2 separate regions of the Homo sapiens genome follow, and region 1 is linked to region 2. The links are contacts of gene promoters, found by promoter capture Hi-C in blood cells and fetal thymus (Javierre and others, 2016). All regions are on one chromosome and are shown on one strand. The core of a region is centred on a gene start or on the middle of the fragment in contact, and the rest is flanking DNA. Distances in the headings are between cores, read along the strand shown.

Evidence for each region. Contacts are between HindIII fragments. The CHiCAGO score rates a contact against its expected background, and 5 or more counts as called.
Region 1: a fragment that was not itself captured here is called in contact with the fragment with the promoter of SCN4A in region 2 in 1 of 17 cell types (total B cells); the score reaches 5.0 in total B cells.

The regions. Positions count from the first base shown.
Region 1 is chr17:64,074,403-64,080,724 of GRCh38, forward strand. It overlaps ERN1 (endoplasmic reticulum to nucleus signaling 1), which reads right to left. Exons shown (of 22, transcript NM_001433.5): 4 at 5,260-5,332; 5 at 773-845. Among named protein-coding and RNA genes, the nearest start is that of ERN1, 53 kb to the right of the region's middle. RefSeq lists silencers at 4-63, 547-841 and an enhancer at 284-363. The HindIII fragment of the contact is 755 bases long and covers 2,125-2,879 here.
Region 2 is chr17:63,971,657-63,977,916 of GRCh38, forward strand. It overlaps SCN4A (sodium voltage-gated channel alpha subunit 4), which reads right to left and starts at 1,262. Exons shown (of 24, transcript NM_000334.4): 1 at 913-1,262; 2 at 696-814; 3 at 480-569; 4 at 66-194. The coding sequence starts at 1,185. The HindIII fragment of the contact is 13,365 bases long and covers 1-6,260 here.

The sequences.
Region 1 (6,322 bases), core at 1,252-3,751, 100 kb after region 2:
GTTTCCTCCAAATTCCTAGGCTGGGAGTTCCTCATTCTGAAGGTGTGGAAGGAAGCAAGAGTCTCAGTGTCCTGAGCAAAACCTTAAAAGTCTGGCCTGCACTTGAGACCCAGAAATACACATAAAGCTCCTCGAGGCATGAATAGGCAATAAGCACTTTCAGTTCCTCAAAAAGAAAGCTGCTGTATAAATACGGGCTATTATTGCTACTATGATTTCAAGATAAATACAGCTCTCCTTTGTGTTGCAAATGCTTTTTTATTGACATTTTGGCAGCAACATAGTAAAAGAAAAGCAGGTGATCTGATGCTTTGAAAGCTGTGACCCCATAGGTATGAAGGCAGTTTATCTAGGCAAGCTATTAAGTGCTGTTCTATCAAACATTCTGATAGCAGGAAATACTAAGAAAGCGCTATAATTAACAGGCAGAGCCTGGCTTTCCTTCCTTGGCTTAGATGATTGTACTCACTTTAAATTTCATCCATTTGCCACTGGGTATGTTGCAATCTTGGAATCTCAGGACTAAGTCAACACAGCAACTAAAAGCTTGTTAAATGAGTAACCATATTAATGATGTCAATTCTTCTCCCAAGTTGGGGGAGCCCTTTCTTAATTGGTCAGCTGATCCTGGGGAGAACAGCACCTGAAGCACAACCCAGGAAAGAAAGGGTTGGCAAGGCGGTGACTGCGCCCTCTCTCTCCGCATGCCACTTTCCCAGATTCCGGGACTTACATCAAAGAGACACAAGTTTCTGGAGACAGGAACTCTTACCCATGTAGAGGATTCCATCTGAACTTCGGCATGGGGATGCCTGCACCAATTCTGGGATGGTAAAAGGAAGTTTCTTTAAAAAAAAAAAAAAAGAAAAAAAAAAGTTAACCAAGTCTTGTGCAATTATTACAATTTTACCAGGCAGTTTGTTTCTATTACCTAATTCTGCTAAAAAGAGAGAAGCACTTTGCAGATGAGAGTTTTCCTAACTGAATACAAAGGAGAAGGGGGCACCCTATGCTTCCACATCTACTGTGTTTTTATTTTCATTTTTTTGAGACAGGGTCTCATTCTGTCGCCCAGGCTGGAGTGCAGTGGCACCATCTTGGCTCACTGCAACCTCTGCCTCCTGGGTTCAAGTGATTCTCTCACCTCAGCCTCCCAAGTAGCTGGGATTACAGGCATGTTGCCACTACACCCAGCTAATTTTCCACATCTATTTTGACAAGCTCCCAGGTCCCTGAGCTCTGTAAACATCCACTCCTTTACTTGACACCATGTGCAGAGGCCCCTCAAGGTCTCCTGTCCAGGGTGCTTCCCAGGGGTGACACAAACCTTTTCTGAAAAGATTTACACAAATATGGAGAGTTATATATTCTTTGAAATGCTAAGAAAGAATTGTCCTGGCTTGGAATACAGAGCCAGAGCTGGCTAGACTGAGTAAAATGACAGTGCTTTGTAGAGCCCCATGGGAGGGAGCCAGGACATTGATGCTGAAGGGATGCAACCTTGGTGCCAAGCTCAAGCTTCGAGGGAAAGGAGAAGTCGCCATTACAGGGGCAACACAAGAGTTTGAGGTGGAAAAGAGTTTTGATGTTTTCTTCAGTAAATAATTCACTATTGAAAAACAAGAAAAATTGAGACTTTTGGTTTTAAAGAGGAAGTTAAGATAGGTGCCAGGAAAAGAAACTCAAAGGAATCCAAATGTTTCAACTGCATTTCATCATAAAACTGATTCTTCTGAGTCTACAGCTGACATCTGACGAGCTCTTTTGGTTAATGCTTGTTTCAGTATACTTTATTTTTAGAACATTCTGTGTTTTTGAAATTGTTCTATAGATACCTGCTTTTATAGAAATGCCTCTACTGCATGGTCACCTTTTTCTCCAAGAAAGAAAAGATTTCTCTCTAGCTTTAATAAGCAGAGCTTTGCATACTAAATAACTTGGATTTTCCCATCATCCCAACATTCAAACCAAGCCTCAGAGGAGGAAAAATGCTTCAGAGAGGCTGCAATGACTGGGTTTTGCCATGTGTTTCTGAGAATCAGAAAGGCACTGCAGATCTTCTAGTCTTCTGGAGTCCTGTGGTCTCTGCTGAGCACTGCCACTGGTGCCCTGATTCAAGGCCCAAGCTTGGGAAACATTGTTTCTGGAGCTGCTAAACCACAACCCAGAAAGGAGCACAAGGGAGTGATGAAGGGCATCCTCTTTTTTTTTTTTTTTGAGACGGAGTCTCACTCTCACCCAGGCTGAAGTGCAGTGGCGTGATCTCGGCTCACTGCAAGCTCCGCCTCCCGGGTTGATGCCATTCTCCTGCCTCAGCCTCCCAAGTAGCTGGGACTACAGGCGCCCGCCACTGCGCCTGGCTAATTTTTTGTATTTTTTAGTAGAGACGGGGTTTCACCGTGTTAGCCAGGATGGTCTCGATCTCCTGACCTTGTGATCCGCCCGCCTCGGCCTCCCAAAGTGCTGGGATTACAGGCCCGGCTGGGCATCCTCTTTAAGAACCAACTCCAACACTAGAAGACTCAGCCCTGGACATATTCCTTCACTTCTCCAGGCTGTTTCCACACCTCTAAAACGGGGATATCACCCACAGGGCTGCTGAGAGATTCCAATGAGATAACTTATACAACTCACTCACCCCAGTTTCTGGCAAACAAATTGCTTAAGAAATGGGGACTACAGAGCTGTGGAGAGAAACCAACGGAGAGCAGTGTTGAAGGTGAAATACACACAGCTCTATACAAACTTGCCCTCCTCCCCTCTGTTTTGGTCACAGGCATTCACAAAATAATTTTAAAACACCCAAGTTAAAGTCCACAATCCACTTACAGCCTAGATCAGTGGTTCTCATCCTTGGTTGCCCATGAGAATTACTTGGAAGCTTTAAAAACTTCCTACTGATGCATAATACGCAAACAGAAAAGCACTCATCATCACACAGCTCAGTCAAGTTTCACAAAGTGAACATACCCACGTAACCGGCATCCAGGTGAAGAAACAGAAGCCCCCCTCCTCTCTTGCCCCCCTTTCTAGCCATAACTCTCCAGGGGTAACTATTATCCTAACTTCAAAACAGCAGAGACTCGTTTTTCCTGTTTTTGGCTTTACATAAGTGAATGGCAGCGTGTGGCCTTTTTTGTCTGTCATGTTTTGCTCAACATCACGCTTGTGAGTCATCCGCGGCGTGTGTCGTCATAGACTGTTGGTCCTCATCACCGTGCATGCCGCTTCCAGAGTTTATTTTTCCACTCCACTGTGGATGTTATTTGGCCACCCTCTGCTTATTATAAATGGTGCTGCTGTACATTTGGGCACATGTCCATTGGTGAACAAAAGTGCATTTCTTCTTTTTTTTTTTTTTGAGATGGAGTCTCGCTCTGTTGCCCAGGCTGGAGTGTAGTGGCGTGATCTCAGCTCACTGCAAGCTCCACCTCCCGGGTTCACGCCATTTTCCTGCCTCAGCCTCCCAAGTAGCTGGGACTATAGGCGCCCGCCACCGCACCTGGCTAATTTTTTGTATTTTTAGTAGAGACGGGGTTTCACCATGGTCTCGATCTCCTGACCTCGTGATCCGCCCACCTTGGCCTCCCAAAGTGCTGGGATTACAGGCATGAGCCACCGCACCCAGCCACAAATGTGCATTTCTGTTGGGTCTGTAACCTAGGAGGGCATTACTGGGTCCTAAGGACTTTAGCACTTACTGCCAACAGTTTTCCAAATCACTTGTGCCACCCTGCACTTCCGCCAGCAGTAGGTGAGAGTCCTGGTTGCTCCACATCACCAACATGTTTTCTTTTTCTACTTTCCTTGTTTTGGCCATTCTGGTGAGTAGCAGTATGGCACTGTGGCTTTAATTTGCATTTCCAAATGACTAATAAAATGGAACATCTTTTCATATGTTTATGACCATTTGGATATTCTCTTCTGTTATTCTTCCATTGGGCTGTCTTTTTTTAACGTACCATAGGATTTCTTCATATATTCTGAATATGAACTTTTGTTGGATGTGTATACTACAAATACTTTGTGGCCTCTTAATGAGGAAAAGTTCTTAATTTTAATATAATCAATATATTGATTTTTTCCTAAATTTATAGTGTTCTTTAATATCCTACTTAATAAATCTCTACTTACTCTAAGATCATGAAGATGGTTCCATTACTTTTTTTCTTAAAGCTTTATTATTTTGCATTTCACATTTAGATGTGTGATCTATCTGGAACTGATTTTATATGTGTTGTAGGGGGGTAGGAGTCAATACTTTTATTCCTATATGGATATCCCAATTGACCTACACCACTTATTGCAAAAACACTGTAAGCTGGGTGGTGGTGGCTCACGTCTGTAATCCCAGCACTTTGGGAGGCTGAGGTGGGTGGATCGCTTGAGCCCAGAAGTTGGAGACCAGCCTAGGCAATATGATGAAACCCCATTTCTACCAAAAATACAAAAAATTAGCTGGGCGTGGAGATGTACACCTGTGGTCCCAGCTACTCAGGAGGCTGAGGTGGGAGGCTGGCTTGAGCCTGTGAGACGGAGGTTGTAGTGAGCCAAGATTGTGCCACTGCATTCCAACCTGGGTGACAAAGTGAGACCCTGTCTCAAAAGAAAAGAGAAAAGACAAGACAGGACACTGCAGTGTCACCTTTGTCACATATCAGATGACCATATGTGTGGGCCTGTTTCTAAATTCTCTTATCTGGGGAGCTTTTAAAAAGTCCTGATGACTTAGATCAATTAAATCGGGACCTTCTGGGATTGGGCCCTATGTTCTAGGTCCTAATGCTGTTTTTTCGAATTCCAGGTTATTACAATGTATAATTAAGGCTGAAAACCACTGGTTTAGATTCTCAAATGGAAATGAGGGTAGAATATCACATGACTCCCTTAAGGAGTCATCGGAAGGTGGGGCAGGTGGAGACAGCATTTCAAACTATATCCCTCCCTCCTAAGGTGAGGGTCACCAGTTAGAGCAAACCCTGTTCTTAACATTATATCCTCCAGTGTATGGGCTGGGCCATGAGAACCTGCTGGTCTGCATCCGTGTTTCTGAACTCTGGCACCACATTTAAAAGCTCATTTAGGAAGCTCTCTGAAAAGACTGATGCCCAGGCTCCTCTCTAGACCACCTGAATCAGAATCCCCAGGGGTTGTTTTTAAAAGCTCCAGGTGGGAGACACAGTAAGACACTGTGCAGACACACTTAAGGACCGCTGGTCTAGAACCCCTGGAGTACAAAAAGCAGCTAAATATACTCACCGTCAGGCCTTCATTATTCTTGCTTCCAAGCGTATACAGGCTGCCATCATTAGGATCTGGGAGAAAGGCAGGCCTAGAGATTAAATAATAAATATCAAAGATAAATTACAGCCCAGGGCATGGAACAACATACCAAAGCCACGCAAACCCATGATGGAGGAATAGAGAGTGGAGGGTGGTTGTGTGTAGGTGTATAAGTGAGTATATAAGACAATTCCACCCACTACTCTCTCTCACTTCAACCACAGATAAATAAAATACCCCTATGGTGGTATACACTATCCTTGAGTGGAGAAAAGCGGCCTGAAAGGAAAAATCATACAAAACCATAGAAGACAAATTATCATTTGGTCAAAGCACTCTGGATGAAGGCAAAATATGTGAAAAGGACCCAGTAAGTCCACTTTTCAATTTCTACATCAATTGTATATAGAACTCCAGCCATTAATATTTGATAGGATGGCATGGTACATAAACAGGTAGAACAAATCTGCTTTTAGTTTTCAAGAGATATTTTTTGTTTAACTGGAGGCAATAAAAGCAGACTCTAACAGCTTGACATCAGAGAGAACCCGCCAAGGGGACAGATCAAGGTCCCTCCGTCAGTAGCTTCCCTTGAAGCAGATGTGAAGTGGTCTTTTGTCAAGTTAATCTGCTAAAGACTAAACTATAACTACAGTCCCTCAGAAACCCTTGGCTGAATCGTTCCTTAGGTTGTGCCATCATTTAAGGCTCTTACCAGTGCTATCCAGCTTTTACCCCAACACACACTCTGTAGTAGCAGGTCACATTCACCTTTTTTCTCCATGATATGACACAGCAAAGAGGAAGAGGTCCAGTCCCCCTGAGGACTTTGGAAGTTTAAGTTCAAAGCTCAACTTGAGTTTCATCTCAAATAAGCCTTTTTAAAACCACTACCCTTCTCCCTCAGGAAACTGACCACCTCCTCCTCAACACAAGCTTTCATCATAGCACCTGTAAGACTTTATATGTCACTCACTGTTATTCCTCAAACTTACACATATATGCACTCCCAGCAACTGGCCTCATAAACACTGATTGA
Region 2 (6,260 bases), core at 12-2,511:
CTTTAAGGCCTGGCCCCCTCCCCTCACCCACCCCAGCCTCAGGATGTCCTGGGGCCCCTGCTCACGCCATCATGATGACACTGAAGTCCAGCCAGTTCCAGGGGTCCCGGAGGAATGTGAAGTCGTCGACACAGAAGCCTCGGGCCAGTATCTTGATGAGGGACTCAAAGGTGTAGATCCCTGTGAAGGTGTACCTGGGGGGGAGAGGGCCGGCCGGGACAGGCATGTCACCTGGGTAGGGGTCAGTGTGGCAACGACAGACCCCCAGAAGGGAGGGACACAGAAATGAAATATGCCACTCAGGTGGCTAAGGACACTAGCGAGTGATAGCATGGCCACCCCAGGGACTCAAGGTGTGGATGAGGGTCACAATGACAGTGTGTCTCCCTGAAAGACAAGAGCAGCACCACACAGAGGTGCAAACACCTGAGATGGGCTGTGTCCCAGGGCTGGGGAGCTCAGGGAGCAGGGAGACTTACTCCACATTCTTGGACCAGGGAGGCGGGTCACTCATGGTCATGAATACGCAGTTGGTCAAGATGGTGATCATGATGAACATGCTGAACAGCGTGGGGCAGGGTCAAGGAAAGTGAGGAAGCAGCTAGGATGGGAGGTGATAGAGGGTCTCCTGGGCCACAGCACCCCATCTCGCCCATCCCTAACCCCTCCCGCCTCTCCCATCTTGGGCAGGATATGCATGGATGAGCACCTTGATGGCCCCGCGCCTGACTACGCTGAAGGGGCTCAGCAGGTAGAGAGCAGGTGTGGCGGAGAAGCGGAAGATGGCCTTGCCCTTGTTGAGTACGATGAAGGTCTAAGGTGGGAGAGAGGCTGTGAGACCCAGGGACAGACAGACAGGCAGACAGATGGATGGATGGCAGACAGACAGAGGAAGCCTTCCCAGGCCCAGACCTTCTTATTGCTGTAGTAGGGATCCAGGTCCTCCAGGGGGATGCCGATGACCTCCGGCGGGGGGTCTCCGTAGATCATGGGTAGGTTCTTGCCAGCCTCCAAGTCACTTCGTGGCTTCCGTTCGGGCTCCTCAATCTCCATCTGCTTATTCCGCTGCAGCCGGGCCTCCTCCTCCACCGCCCGCTGTTCTATGGCTGCCAGTGACTCCCGGGTGAAGGGGCGCAAGCACTCAGGGCCCAGAGGCACCAGGGTGCACAGAGATGGTCTGGCCATCCTCGCATCCTGGGCTCAGAGACCAGAAGGGTGGTGGGTGGCCTGGGGAGCTGCAGTGCGCAGCCCCGGGGTGCTGGGCGGCCGCCCCTCCCTGGGCGGGCCGTCCACTCCTCACCTCCTGCTTGCCCAGTGGCCGAGCCGGGGAGGTGGGCGTGCAGACTCTATCAGGACTGGGAGATGTGCCTGCAAGGTGCTGCTGCTGCACAGGTGCTGGGCACAGAGCATCACCCCTGGCCCCCCCACCACACTTTCCCCAGAAGTGGCAGCGGCTGCCCTCAGGACCGACGGCAAACCAACCAGATTCTTTGTGGCCTTGGGACTTGGGGTCAACACCCCAGTGCCTTCGACTGCCTCCTGGGCCCAAGCTCCGGGAACTGTGTGGCTTCAGCCTAATGGGACAGAGAGAGAACCACAGCTGGCTGTGCTCAGGCGACCTCTGGATAGGCCAGGATGAGGGGCCTGGTTGGGGGGTTAGATCAAAGTGGGACTGGCACAGGGACTTCACCCTGAGGGCCGACGTGGATCCTGATATTGGCCACCTGGAGATGTAGGTGGAGACCATGAAGGTGGCAGCCAGGCTCTGTGCAAAAAGGTTGCTGTGATTGATTAGTGATGTCTGCCAGGGGCGCAAGGAGGAAGACCGTGGTGCCTCTGCCTGTGTTTGCCATCCCTGGCCTGGAGGGAAGGGAAAAGAAAGATGGGGGTGGGTGTGGATTCCTCTTTCCTGATCTTTGGGGTACTTGGTGTTGGGCTGGGAGAGGGAAGAAGAAAGGGCCCTGGGCCCGGCAGGGGTCTCCTAGCAGTTCCCTCCCACAGCCCTGGGGGCTCTAGCCCACTGGGCAGGCAGGGTGAACTGGGAGAGGAACATTGCATCTGGAGAGCTGCAGGTGCTAACGTGGAAGAGAAGACGTACAGGGAAGGTCACAGGGACAAGGAGATGGACAACTCCAATGGTGGGGGCAGGGCTAGAGCTCCTGGGGACTGCTTTTGGCTGGTGGTCCCAGCACAAGCTGGATTGGGGGAAGGGGCATCCACAAGGAGCCTTTGATGCCTGTGAGCATTGTGTGGTCTGGGCCCCACCTGGCCCCTCTCCCCTTCTGCCCAGCCCTCCAGAGCCTATTCCTGTGGAAGGGAAGGGGGATCACTTATTGCAAATGGCCCTGGGGGAATGACCACATCAGCAGGCAGTTGCAGTGAGACCCCTGCAGACCAGCTGCAGGCAGCCACTGCCAGACCCACATGGACAGACCTGGAGCCACCCCTGCACCACAGGGACCTGGACAGACCCCTAGAGACCCCCAAAGCCACACCTGAGGGTGGACCTCTCCCAGTGGGCCTTGACCCTTGCAGCAGCGCCCCTGCCCTGGTCAGCACGGGCGCTTCTCAGGCTTGCTCAACAGGTGGGGAGGGTGGCCAGGGAGAGGCCAGAGCCACTGGGCAGAGCTGGCCACGCCCTTGTGCCTGGCTCCCAGCTGCTCCTTACAGCACCCAGGGAGTCGTGTTTCCACGGGGATGACTCTGCTTATTCCTGCCAACCCTGCCCTCAGCTGCTCACTGGCCCCTGTCGTGAGCGTGGGCGTGCATGTGCACACACTTGCACACACAGGCACATGCACGCACACCCGGCCTGGAGCCACCCCACATGCAGACCTTCCCAGTTGCATCTCACAGCTCTGTCATATACCTTGCCACCTTCCTCCCCATCACCCACTCCACGTACACCCCCACATGCTGCTTGTCACTACACAGAAGGCGCCAACCAGCCAGATGGCCTTGAAGAGACCCCAGGGCTGCTGTGCACCCACCCAGTCTGCAGTCCCTGCTGTGATGATCCTCCTGTCCTGATACTGCTCACTCTTTTCATTACACGAGCCCAAGTAGGGCCACAAAAGCCCACAGACACATAGTCTGGCTCCCAACCCCAGCACTCGAGGAAATGACTCTCACCTGAGTCACCAGAGCTCCCCAGGGGACAGATCCAGTGTTTTCTTCCCCGCTGGCCCTCCTGAGCTTCCCACACCGCACACCGCCTTTCTTCTTGGGAGCAGGACATCACCTGTGCGTCCGGCCACTCTCCCCAGCTCTGCTCTGGGACCTGCCCCTTCCCTGCCCCTGGAAGATGCTTCTTCTCTGGGGCCTGCTCTGCAGCCTGTTTTCTTTGCACAGCGTACACCTCTCCCTTCAAAATGTTCACTTCCTCCTAATTTCCTCTTCTCCTACTCCTCCATTACCCCTGAGGTCTGGCTGTTTTGTAATGTGAGGGGAGGAATGTCCTCACTGGTTCCACTTGCTGAAGCTGGCTTTGGTTGGTGGCTGCCCGAAGCATCATGGTGGTAGATCTGGCCAGTTCCACACCCTACTGATGCTCCCTCTCCAGTGTCACTGCCCTCTCCACCCTCCACCCCTCACCTGTTCTGTTCAAATAACCTCCCCGCGTGGTGACATGCTCCTGTAGTCCCAGCTACGAAGGCAGGAGGATCCCTTAAGCTCAGGAGTTCGAGGCTGCAGTGAGCCATGATGGTGCCACTGTCCTCCAGCCTGGGTGACAGAGTGAGACCCTGTCTCAAAAACCAACCAAAGAAACACCTCCCACCAGGCTCTCCCCTAGACTGCCATAAATATTTGTAAAGTCACAAATTTCACCCCCTGCTTAAATCTTCAATGGCTTTCCACTGCTTAGGAGTACGTCCTAAGCCCTACCCAGGGCTCCCAAGGCCCTCCATGATCAGATCCCTGCCTCATTGCCTACCCTTCCCGCATCCTCTGGCCATGCTACCTCCATTTTCACAAATGGGCCAAGCTGTTTTCCACCCCCCTGCCCTAACCCCCATGCCTTTGCTTGTGGTTTGCTCTCCTCCCAGAGCACCCATCTTCTTTGTCTCCCTGGAGAGCTTCCATTCATCTTTCTAGACTCAACCCACACAAGAACCACCTCCTCCAGGAAGCCCTCCCTGGGTACCCTGGCTGGGTGGAACTCTCCCCTTGTTTGTGTCACCAGCTCAATAAAAGTTTATCAAATGAATAAGTGAGTGAATCACAGGGACACTCTACCTTAGCTCTTTTCTCCTTTAAGCATACCCTGAACCTAAATCATAACCAGAAACCATATCTCCTCTGAAATCACCACTTCAAACTCTTCCTTTGCCCCTGCCACCTTCTCAGCTCCTGGCTCAGGGGCCCGGTTGCTATAATCTTTGGGCACTTTCAGTTCTTTGACCCTGCACTTTCTCCCTTTCCACCTGCTTCTGACTTCATGTCCCTCCTCATCTAGGCTTACTTAGAAGATCATCATTCTGGTCCCTCCTCCACAGCTCCCAGGGAGAGATCCCAGAAGGAGGGATCTCTCTCCTTCTATCACACAGTCCTGGGGAACCCCTAACTGCATGTCCCCAGCTCTGGTTTTCCAAAGTCAGCCCCGAGCTGGAGAAATGTGGCTGGGGAAATGGTATGACTAGGCTGAGCTCACCGTAAATTCATGGTCACATATTCTGGGTTTGTCCTCAATCCTGCCAGCCCTGTAGTGTGGATTTTTCTGGTAGGCTCACTTTTCCACTTTTTGAAAACAACTATTTCATGCCTTCTCCTCTTTCCTCAGACCTCCGCGCTCCTCCCCATGAGCCTCCCAGCTGATGGTCTTCCCTGAGGAAGGAAGAACCACTACACACACACTGTCAAATCCACAGAACCATCTCCCCATCCCACCCCGTCTTCCTCTATCCTGTTAGAATAATAATAAGAAGCAAGGGTCAGGCTTTCCTGGGGCTCAGGACCCCAGCCCCTCTTGCTTCTCAAAGACCTCTCCAGGTGCCCTCTCTCTACTGCCCATCCACCTCTCCCCATCTGTGAACAGACTCTAGTGTCCCCCACTTTAAAAACAATGGCAGTGGTGACAAAACTATTCTCCTGGCCCCACACCTCCCTGCATCTATTGCCCTATTTTTCTTTCCTCTTCACAGTAAAACTTCTTGGAAAGTGTCTACACCAGCTGTCTTGACTTCCTTACCTTTCATTCTCTCTCCAATCCATTCCAACCTGGCTTCCGTTTCCCCTTCAACTGAAACTACTTTTGTCAAGTCACTAACACCCTCCCTGCTGCCAAGTCCAGTGAACACGCTTCTGTCCTCAGCTCCCAGAGCCTCTCAGAAGCATGCAGCCCAGTTGGCCACAGCCCCTTTCTGGAAGCACCTGATTCTCACAGCCTCCATGGAAGCTGCTTGCTGTTTCCCTTCCACATCCCTGGCTGCTCCGTATCACTTTCCTCTGCTTGTCCTGATTTCTGTCCCCAATCTCTAATGTTTTTCAGGGTTCGAGCTGGTTCAGGGTGGCATCATTCCTATGACCATAAATAATGTCATGGGGCCAGGCACGGTGGCTCACGCCTGTAATCCCAGTGCTTTGGAAGGCCAAAGTGGGAGGATCGTTTGAGCCTAGGAATTGGAGACCAGTCTGGGCAACATAGTGAGACCCTGTCTCCACAAAAAACAAAATAATTAGCTGGGTGCGGTGGTGTGTGCCTATAGTCCCAGCTATTCGGGAGGCTGAGGCAGGAGGATCACTTGAACCCACGGAAGTGGAGTCTGCAGTGAGCTGTGATTGCACTACTGCACTACAGCCTCGGCGATAGAGCAAGACCGTGTCTCTAAAAATCAATAAATACAATAAAATAATAAATTAATTATAAAATAATAAGTTCATGAATAAAATAATAGTAATGTCATGGGAATGTGATAAACGTTTCCCTTGACGTCCAGGCTGGTATATTCAACTGCCCCCAGACGGCTCCACCGGGATGGCTCACACCCTCCCAACTGCAATCAGACGTTTGCATCTTCCACTGTTCCACCCTTCAACCCAGGAAACGGCATCACTGCTATTGGCTGCTCAAATAAAAAATTAAGGTATCTCCCTGAATTCTCCTTTTTCTTCACCTTCCACACCAAGCCTGTCCAAAGTTCTATTAATATCATCTCCCACATACTCCTATATTTGACATTTTTCCATCTCCCTGGGTCCATACCACAATAGTCTCTTACAATAGCCTGTTTCCTGCTATCTGCTTTTGCACACACACCCTC